Linked DNA regions of Homo sapiens: region 2 is linked to region 1. The links are contacts of gene promoters, found by promoter capture Hi-C in human tissues and cell types (Jung and others, 2019). All regions are on one chromosome and are shown on one strand. Each heading gives the region's core, a stretch centred on a gene start or on the middle of the fragment in contact. The rest is flanking DNA. Distances are from core to core; before and after follow the strand shown. Region 1 holds the start of LY6E (lymphocyte antigen 6 family member E). Region 2 has its middle 12 kb from the start of CYP11B1.

Region 1 (5,327 bases), core at 2,012-4,511:
TCAGGGGCCAAACCGCAGCAGGGCCGGCAGCAGGCTCAGCAGCAGCCCGGCACCCAGCAGGGTGACGCTTGCCCGCAGCCCGCCATCGGCCGCACTGAAATTGCACAGAAAGCTCTGGCAGCAGCTGATGCCCATGGAAGCCACACCAACATTGACGCCTTCTGGGATGGGGCAGGCCGGGGAACAGGTCTTGCTCAGGCTGTGGCCAAATGTCACGAGATTCCCTGCATGGGAAATGAGGCTGTCAGGGGAGAGACAGACGGCTGCAGACAGACAGCAATGGCCTCTGCTGAGCCCCGGCCCGGGCTAGGGAGATGGCCAGGGGAGGAAGGCACGGTCTGAGGCCTGGCACTCACCAATGCCGGCACTAGCAGACACAGTCACGCAGTAGTTGTCCTGGTCGGAGCAGATGGTCGGCTTCAGGCAGTACAGATTGCTCTTCTGGTTCAAGCAGGAGAAGCACATCAGCGAGCTGGCTGCGGAAGGAGGACACACCTGTCTCAGGGAAGCCTCCAGTGTCCCTCCCAGGCCTGACCCCAGTGGACATTTACTGAGAAATTACTGTATACCAGGCCCTGGGCTGAAGGCAGAGCAAAGACAGTGACACCCCACCCTGGCCGTCGAGCAGGTCAAGCGACACTCAAACACACAGTGAGACAGTGTGGCCAGGCCGGGTGAGCCCTCTGCTGGGAGCGGCCTGGAAGGACCCCTGGGGCGTCTGCTCAGGGGAGAGGGGTGGAGAGGGAGTGGAGCAGGGCACAGCTGGACAAAGGTCTGGGGTCCCCAAGGGCACCTCACCTCGCTCCACACCCAGAAGGGCAGCCAGCAGCACTGGCAAGAAGATCTTCATTCTGGAGAGGATGGCCGTCCTGCCTGGAGGTCACAAACCAAAGCAGCCTGTCCTGCTCTGGAGAGACACACTGGTTAGGGGGCCGGGTGGTGCCTCACTCCTCCCCAAGACCATGCACCCCCACTTTGCAGATGAGGACACAGACAGCAGAGGGGAAGGGACCTGCCAGCACACAAGGACTTCCCTGCTTCTCTCCTGACCCACTCCTCACTCAGTGCAGACATGCTCTAGGCTATCTCCCTCCTGAAACCTGGCAGGAGGGGGCTGCACAGGCAAGAGGAGGAAACTCAGCAGCCTTCTCAGAACCACAGAAAAGAAGGCAGAGTGAGTGGCCTCTGCCAGTGGTCCTGGGGTGGGGGAATGGGGAATGGGGAATGGTGATCAGTCATAATATTAGCTAGTCTGGGGCTGGGTACAGGGGCTCACGCCTGTAATCTCCATGCTATGTGAGGCCAAGGCAGGAGGATCATATGAGGCCAGGGGTTTGAGACCACCCTGGGCAACACAGTGAGACCTCCTGTTTCTACAAAAAATACAAAAATTAGCCGGGCGTGGTACGTGCCTGTGGTCAGCTACTTGGGAGGCTGAGGTGGGAGGATCTCTTGAGCCAGGGAGTTCAAGACTGAAGTGAACTATGATCATGCCACTGCACTGCAGCCTGGGCAACAGAGTGAGACCCTGTCTCAAAAAAAAGAGAAATCTATATACACATCTATATGTGTATCTGTCAGTGTATATTAGCTAATCTGTATCTAGAATTTTCCTTGGGATGGCTCAGTGTTTTGAGCCCAGGCAGCTCCCCTCACATGGAGACCTGGGGCCAGGTGGGGCATGGCTGAGGGGGAAAGCACTCCCCATTCCTGATGTTACTCAGTTCCGAGGAAAGCACCCCACTCAGTATCTGCTACTCCCCATTCTGTGGCTGGGAAATGGGCTCCGAGAGACAAGGCTGCGTGCCACTGGTCCCACCAGCAGGAAAGGGCCAGATGGGTCGCTGTACTGCTCCTCGGCCTCTGCACAGGACCCTCTGCACTGCTGGAGAAAGAATCTGGAACACACCCAGCTGGGGTCGTGATTCTCTGTTTTGTGAGTGCATGGTGTTGGAGGGGGAGGCTGCTGCCTTCTGTCAGGGACAGCCGTGGGCAGAGGAGTGGGAGGGACATCCCGGGCCTGGGGAGCTAGTGCTGGGCACTGGGGGTAAGGAGGATGCCTCAGAGAACAGATCTGGAGAGGGGCCCGCAGAGGCCCTAAGGGGAGAGCAGCAGGCCAGGACAGTGAGACCTGGGCTGACATCCTGGGGTTGGGAGTGGGAGCCCCAGGTGGCCAAAAACAGTGCCAAGTCCGGCTGGGGCCTATCCCCGCCTCCAGGGAGTAGCCCGAGGAGGAAGGATCTCCAATTCCTTTTCCCCCCACCCCCCTAAAGTGAGGTTCTGGTGTGGGGGGGTCCCTGAGCTGTCTCTGAGGAAGTCCTAGCATACAGGGCCACAAACAGGTCCAGCTGGTGCCGCCACCTGCTCACTGGGTGGCACCCAACCCGCTGGGCCACCAGGCTGAGCTAAGGCACCGGTGGGAGCCGAAGGCAATTAGGAAGGCCGGGTGGGCCATGGAGCCCGGAGGGAGCCAGCCGGCAGGCCGTGGGGGGCGCCCCTGGGGCCCAGGCTGCAGGCTCATGGCTCATCCCCAGGCTCAGGGAAGCTGGCCCCTGGGAGCCAGGTATCTAGGGGCTGCCCAGCCAGCAAGGGGCGGGAGCCTCTCCTGTGTCCCGGAACGGGGAGGGGCCCGGCGGTCCACTCAGGGAGGCTGGGCTCCTTGGACCTCACCGCAAGCACCACCAGTGCCAAAACAAGAAGCGGGGGCGGGTTCCAGTGCTCCGGGGTGATATGCCGGGGGCGGTCAATCCTCCCTTTCCGGCCAGGAGCTCTGCAAGGTCCCGTGCCCCCTCCCCTAGTCCTCAAGGCTGTCCCTCCCGGCCCACGTAGAGGAGCCAGGAGCGTCTGGAGTTGGGTGATGGGCTCCAGTGGCTGCGCAGCCCTGGGGCGGCCGGGAGGCTCCTGGCGGCAGTCTCCGCCCGCTCCCGCCCCAGATCTTTGGAAACATTCGGGGAGGCCTGCGGGGGATGGGAGGAGAAGCTCAGCTCTCTGGGGACCAACCCACCGGCAGCCCCAGCCCCTCTCCTGCGCCTCCCCGTGCGCCCCTCTTGCTCTCTCCCACCCTCTCCCGCCCCGGCCCCCGCAGGGCGCCTTCCGCCGCGCGTGGCTGAGCCGGGGCCGCGTGCACCGCAGCCGAGGCCGCCGGGTCTGAGCGCGTGCGCGCAGGTGGCGGGGGCGTCCCGGCCGGGGGCCCGCGGACTCACCGCCGGGCGGACGCAGGTACCAGCAGCCTGGCCGAGCTCCCCGAACCTCGCGCGCTCTGGACCGCGGCTGGCCCGGAGCCTCCCAGGCAGCCGCGCGGCCCCGGGGCGGGGGCAGGGGCGGGACGCGGGAGGGGCCTCCGGCGGGCGGAGTCGGCGAGCCCGCGGTGGGGGTCCCCGCGCCGCCCAGGCCTACCCCGGCTCCTTGGGATAGATGGGGAAGCTGAGGCCCAGAAGGGGGCTGAGACCACCTCCCAGTTTCCCCAGTGAGGTGGCGCCTGAGCCACGGCCAGGCCCGGCCTCCTTCCACCCGGCCCTGCTGTGCGCGCGGCGGGTGCTGACCTGGCGAGGCCGGACAGGGGACCAGGTCGGGGTGACCGTCACTGACACCTGGACAGTCCTCGTTGTGTTCGGGGTGGGAAGCCCACGGGTGAGCAGACGTGTTTGGGTGTGAGCACGGAGGAGGGGTGCCTCGGAGAGTGTCGGGGAGCAGTGTTGGGGGTCTCGCCTGCGGAGTGGAGCTCGGGAGGGGAGGACGCAGGCACCCCCGCAGCCTGGGATTCCTGAGGTCATCTTGTCCCTGCTTCCCGCTCCAGGCTGGGCTGTTCCTTGGCCATCCCTCAGGCGGGGGTGGGGAGACCGGCAAGGGTTGGGAGGTGGGAGGTTGTGGGTGCTGGCTTCTGCGAGGGCACTGAGGCTCTGCCATCGGTGGGTGCCTCTCCTCCCGCCAGGCCCTCTCCGAGGGGCTGTGGGCGCTGGGGCTCTGCCACCGGCCTGTTCTCCAGTTGACAGTGCGTTTCCTTTCTGGGTGACAGGGCGAGCACCAGGGAGGGGTCTTCTGAACCCCACACGGGAGTAGGGGGAGGGTGTGCGGAAATGTGAGGGTGGGCAGGTGGCCATGTGGTCAGGAGGGGGCTGGGGCTGACAGACACCTGTAACACCCCTGTCTCAAATCTAGGGGTGCAGTCAATGTGGCTGTGTGTGTGTTTTGCATGAGTGAGTGTGTGTGGTGCGTGTGTGTGTGTGTATGGAGGCTGAGGCTGGGGCTGTGTGTGTCACGAGATGTCCTGGCCGTGGTATGATGGCATCGTGGGTGGGGCTTCCACAGCTTTGGGGGCGATGGCCCAGCTGTCTCTGGGGACAGGAGCCTCCAGTAGGCTGTGGCCCGGGGGAGTCCCTGCCTCTGGGTCTTACGTGGGGCACAGGCAGGGCATCTTCCCCTCTGGAATGTTGGCGGTGAGGGCAGGGGGTTCTGTCTCTGCAGCCGGCACCTGGGGCCATCCCTGCCATGGCAGGGGCTCAGTAAGAACTGTGGGACGAAAGCACGGGTGGGTTTGCCCCCTTCAAGACAGGACCCTCTGATTCAGAAAACAAGCTGCATTAGGAGGAGGGCTGTTTGGAAAAAACTCTCAAACCATTTATCCTGTCTCTCACTCAACACAGAAGACATCAACACAGGAGACTCCCAAGACTGCTGGGGCCAAATGTGGCAGGTGGACGTCTCCCCGCCACCGAGCAAGCCATCAGTTCTGCAGCGGACACCAGCCGAGTGTCCTCCAACACCATTCCGGTACCTGCAGATAGCGTCAGATCCAGACACCTACACACACACACACACACACACACACACACACATATGCACACACATGAGCTGCGAGGGCCAGCCTCTGGAACTTCTTACCGACTGGCCCGACGTTGAGGTTCCCACTGTTAGAGGAACGCTTGCTCACCAGGCCTCTGGTTTAATGAAACATGACCAGAGTGACTCCATCTTGAAGTGAGTAGGAGGCACTCACAAGGCACCTATAAGGTTAATGCTTATGGTCTAAAAATAGCCATGTCTCAAGCTGGACACCAATTATAATTACAGAATATTTGTGGCCATATGGGGCATCTCCCAGCAAGCCCGCAGACTGTCCAGATAACCCAAGAGTGCAGGCCACTTTACTCAGAGATAATTTCAATGAGCAGCCTGAGGTTGGAGGATGAACGGGCACTGATGGCACCCACAGCCCCTATCCTTAGTGGGTGCATCTGCCCATTCCAGGTGTAATTGTAGCTCCTTACAGTTTCTTGTAAGCAGAGGCACTAACAGAGGACAGGCCCTCCTCCTCCTGCTTTCTGAGC
Region 2 (5,327 bases), core at 1,538-4,037, 130 kb after region 1:
CCAGAGGAAAATTGCTGATCCCAGTGGTACAAACTGGAGTTGCCTCAAGCCTCATTACCACAGACTAGAGTTTCAAGTTTATTTAGAGCACCTCTAAATAAAGGGGACCTCTGGACTTTGGAGGTACCCTTTAAAGCACCTCTAAACAAACTTGAAAGGCAGTCTAGGCCACAAGAACTGCAACTCCTGCTGCTGAACTGGGCCCAGAGCCAGTGGACCGGTGGGCACGTGAGATACTTAGGCAATAGCTGGGGCAGATAAGGGAGTGCTGGCATCACACCGCTCTCCTAACCACAGGCTGCACAGTTTGAAGCTCCAAAGGAGACCCCTTCCTTCTACTTGAGGAGAGGAGAGAAAAGAAAGGGGAGGACGTTGTCTTACATCTTGGATACCAGCTTCAGCCACAGCAGGATAGGGCACTTGTCAGAGTCCTGAGGTCCCCTTTCCAGGCCCTAGCTCTCAGATGACATTACTAGACACACCTTGGGCCGGAAGAGAACCTGCTGCCTTGAAGGGAAGGGCCAAGTCTGGCAGGAATCATCACCTGCTAACTAAAGAGACCTTGGACCTTGAATAATAAGCAGCTATACCCAGGTTCTTCATCAAGGGCTTTAGGTGAGAATCTGAGACTTGCTGGCTTCAGGTGAAGCTTAGCAGATTCCCCACTGTGGTGAGAGAGATAGACCCCCAATACAATAGTAAGTGGAGACGTCAATACCTCACTTTGACTATCGGACAGATCTTCCAGACAGAAAGTCAACAAAGAAACATCAGACTTAATCTGAACTATAAACCAAATGGACCTAGTAGATATTTGCAGAATATTTTATCCAACGGCTACAGAATACACATTATTTTCCTCAGCACATGGATCATTCTCAAGGATAGACCGTAGGTTAGGTCAAAAAACAAATCTTAAAACATTCAAAAAATTGAAATAATATTGAGCATCTTCTATGACCACAATGAAATAAAACTAGAAATCAATTAACAAGAAGAATTTTGGAAACTATACAAATATATGGAAGTTAAACAATATCCTCCTGAATGACCACTGGGTCAATGAAAAAATTAAGAAGAAAATTGAAAAATTTCTTGAAACAAATGATACTGGAAACAAAACATACCAAAATTTATGGGATACAGCAAAAGCAGTACTAAGAGGGAACTTTATAGCTGTAAGTGCCTATCTCAAAAAAGAAGAAAAACTTCAAATAAAACCTAAGGAACAGAAATAAATGAAATTGAAATGAAGAAAGTGATACAAAAGATCAATGAAACAAAAAGTTGGGTCTTTCTTTGAAAAGATAAACAAAGTTGACAAAACTTTAGCCCAACTAACTAAGAAAAAAAAAGAGAAGATTCAAATAAATAAAATCAGAAATGAAAAAAGAGATATTAAAACTGATGCTGCAGAAACTCAAAGGATAATTAGTGGCTACTATGAGCAACTACATGCCAATAAATTGGAAAATCTAGAAGAAATGGATACATTTCAAGACACAAAAACCTACCAAGATTGAACCTTGAAAAAATAAAAAACCTGAACAGACAAATAGCAAGTAATGAGATTTACTCCATAATAAAATGTCTCCAAGTAAAGAGAAGCCCTGGACTCAATAGCTTCACCGCTGAATTCTACCAAGCATTTAAAGAAGAACTAATACCAATCCTACTGAAACTATTCTGAAAAATAAAGGATGAAGGAATACTTCTGAACTCATTCTACAAGACCAGTATTACCCTGATACCAAAACCAGACAAAGACACATAAAAAAATTAAAGGCCAATATCTCTGATAAATATTGATGCAAAAATCCTCAACAAAATACTATCAAATTGAATTCCACAATACGTTAAAAAGACCATTCATCACGACCAAGTGAGATTTATCTCTGGGATGCAAGAATGGTTCAACAAATGCAAATCAATCAGTGTGATACATCCCATCAACAGAATGAAGGACAAAAACTGTATAATCATTTCCATTGATGCTGAAAAACATTTAATAAAATTCAACATCCTTTTATGATAAAAACAAACCCTCAAAAAACTGGGTGTAGAAGGAATATACTTTAACATAATAAAAGCCATATATTACAGACCCACAGCTAGTATCATACTGAATGGGGGAAAACTGAAAGCCTGTCCTCCAAGATCTAGAGAATGACAAGGATGCCCACTATCACCACTGTTATTCAACATAGTACTGGAAGTCCTAGCTAGAGGAGTCAGACAAGATAAAGATATAAACAACATCCACATTAGAAAGGAAGCAGTGAAATTATCCTTGTTTGCAGATTATATAATCTTATATTTGGAAGAATATAAAGACTCCACAAAAAAACTATTAGAACTTATAAACAAATTCAGTAAAGTTGCAGAATACAAAATCAACTTACAAAAATCAGTAGCATTTCCATATGCCAACAGTGAACAATTTGAAAAATAAAAAGTAATTCCATTTACAATAACCACAAATAAAATTAAATACCTGAGATTAACTAAAGAAGTGAAAGACTATTAAACAGTGATGAAAGAAATTGAAGAAGACACCAAAATGTTCGTTGATTGGAAGGATTGATATGGTTAAAATGTCCATACTACCCAAAGCAATCTACAGATTCAATGCAGTCCCTCTCAAAATACCAGTGATATTCCTCACAGAAATAGAAAAACAATCCTAAAATCTATATGGAACCACAAAAGACCCGGAATAGCCAAAGTTACCCTAAGCAAAGGAACAAAACTGGAGAAATCACATTACTTGACTTCATATTATACTACAGAAGTATAGTAAGCAAAGCAGCAGGGTACTGGCATTAAAACAGACACATAGATCAATGGAATAGAATAGAGAGCTAAGAAAAAAATCCATACACAACAGTGAACTCATTTTTGACAAAGGTGCCAAGGAAAAGACAGTCTCTTCAATAAATGGTGCTGAGAAAACTGGATATCTATATGCAGAAGAATGAAATTAGACCCGTTTCTCACCATATACAAAAATCAAATCAAAATGGATTAAAGTCATAAACATAAAACCTCATACTATGAAACTACTATAAGAAAATATTGGAGAAACTTTCCAGGACATTGGTCTGGGCAAAGATTTCCCGAATAATAACCCACAAACACACACAACCAAAACAAAAATGGACAAATAGGATTACATCAAGTTAGAAAACTTCTGCACAGCAAAGTAAACAATTGCCAAGGTGAAGCGACAACCCACAGAATGGGAGAAAATATTTGCAAGCTACCCATCTGACAAAGGAGTAATAATCAGAATATATAAGGAGTTCAAACAACTCTGTAGGAAAAAAAACTAATAATCCAATTTAAAAATGGGCAAAATATTCGAATAGACATTTCTTAAAAAAAGACATACAAACAGTAAACAGGCATATGAAAAGCTGCTCAACATCATTATCATCAGAGAAATGCAAATAAAAACTACCATGAGATATTTTCTCACCCCAGTTACAATGGCTTGTATCCAAAAGACAGGCAATAACAAATGCTAGCGAGGAAGTGGAGAAAGGGAACCCTTCTACACTGTTGGTAGGAATGTAAATTAGTGCAACCACTATAGAAAATAGTTTGGGGGTTCCTCAAAAAACTAAAAATAGAGGTACCATACAATCCAGCAATCTCATTGCTAGGTATATACCCAAAAGAAAGGAAATTGGTATATGGGATCTGCACTAGCATGTTTATTGCAGTACTGTTCACAACAGCCAAGATTTGGAAGCAATCTAAGTGTGCGTCAACAGATAAAAGGATAAAGGAAATGTGGTGAATATACACAATGGAGTACTATTCAGCCATGAAAAAGCATTTGATCCTGTCATTTGCACCAACAAGGATGGAACTGCAGATTATTACATTAATTGAAATAAGCCAGGCACAGAAAGACAAGCATTGCATGTTCTCACTTATTTGTGGGATCTAAAAACTGAAACAATTGAACTCATGGGGATACAGAGTAGGATAGTTACCAGAGGCTAAGAATGGTAGTGAGGGAGTGGAGGTGAGGTGAGAATGGTTAAAATATAGAAAGAATGAATAAGACCTACTATTTGATAGCACAACAGGGTGATTATAATCAATGACAATTTAATTGTACATTTAAAAATCACTAAAAGCGTATAATTGTGAGATGGTTTGGCTGTGTGTCCCCACCCAAATCTCATGTCGAACTGTAATTCCCACGTGTTGGAGGAGGGTCCTGGTGGGAGATGCTTGGATCATGGAGGGGTGGTTTCTAATGGTTAAGCACCATCCCTCTTGTGCTGTCTCATGATAGAGTTCTCATGAGATTTGGTTGTTTGAAAGTATGTAGCACCTCCCCCTTCACTCTCTCTCTCTCCTGCTCTGTCATGTTAAGACGTGCCTGCTTCCCCTTCATCATCTGCCATGACTGTAAGTTTCCTGAGGTCTTCCAGCTATGCTCCCTGTACAGCCTGCAGAACTGTGAGTCAACCAAACCTCTTTTCTTTATAAATTACCCAGTCTCAGATAGTTATTTATAGCAGTGTGAGAACAGACTAATACAGAAAATTGGTACCAGAGAAATGGGGCATTGCTATAAAGATAACTGGAAAGGTGGAAGTGACTTTGGAACTGGGTAATAGGCAGAGGTTGGAACAATTTGGAGGAATCAGAAGAAGACAGGCAGATGAGAGAAAGTTTGGAACCTCCTGGAGACTTGTTGAATGGCTTCGACCAAAATGCTGATAGTGATATGGACAGAGATGGCCAGGCAGATGAGTTCTTAGATGGAAATGAGGAACTTACTGGGAACTGGCATAAAGGTCACTCTTGCTATACTTTAGCAAAGAGACTGGTGACATTATGCCCCTGCTCTAGAGATCTGTGGAACTTTGAACTTGAGAGAAATAATTTAGGGCATCTGGCAGAAGAAATGTCTAAGCAGCTGCATTGAAGAGGTTACCTGGCTGTTTCTAAAAGTGTATTCTCATATGTATGAAGAAAGAGATTATCTGAAATTTGAACTTATATTTAAAAGAGGAGAGTATGAAAGCTGGGAAAATTTGCAGTTCGACCATGCAGTAGAAAAGAAAAACCCATTTTCTAGGGAAGAATTCAAGGCTGCAGAAATTTGCATAAGTAAAGGAGAGCCAAATGTTAATAGCCAAGTGTATTTATCCTTTCTCATGCTGCTATAAGGACATACCTGAGACCGGGCGATTTATAGAGAAAAGAGGTTTAATTGATCCACGGTTCTGCAGGGCTGGGGAGGCTTCAAGAAACTTACAATCATGGCAGAAGGGGAAGCAAACACATCCCTCTTCACATAGTAG

What was found. Contacts are between HindIII fragments. The study calls those that stand out against the background at their distance.
Region 2: a contact is called between a fragment that was not itself captured here and the fragment with the promoter of LY6E in region 1, in 2 of the 25 tissues and cell types used here (liver and lymphoblastoid cells).

What each region holds. Positions count from the first base shown.
Region 1 is chr8:143,016,463-143,021,789 of GRCh38, reverse strand. LY6E (lymphocyte antigen 6 family member E) reads right to left here and starts at 3,261. Exons shown (of 4, transcript NM_002346.3): 1 at 3,204-3,261; 2 at 799-907; 3 at 357-476; 4 at 1-224. The coding sequence starts at 850. The coding sequence ends at 1. LY6E-DT (LY6E divergent transcript) reads left to right here and starts at 3,400. Exons shown (of 2, transcript NR_026913.1): 1 at 3,400-3,630. The HindIII fragment of the contact is 17,617 bases long and covers 1-5,327 here.
Region 2 is chr8:142,888,977-142,894,303 of GRCh38, reverse strand. No RefSeq gene overlaps it. Among named protein-coding and RNA genes, the nearest start is that of CYP11B1, 12 kb to the right of the region's middle. The HindIII fragment of the contact is 8,238 bases long and covers 1-5,327 here.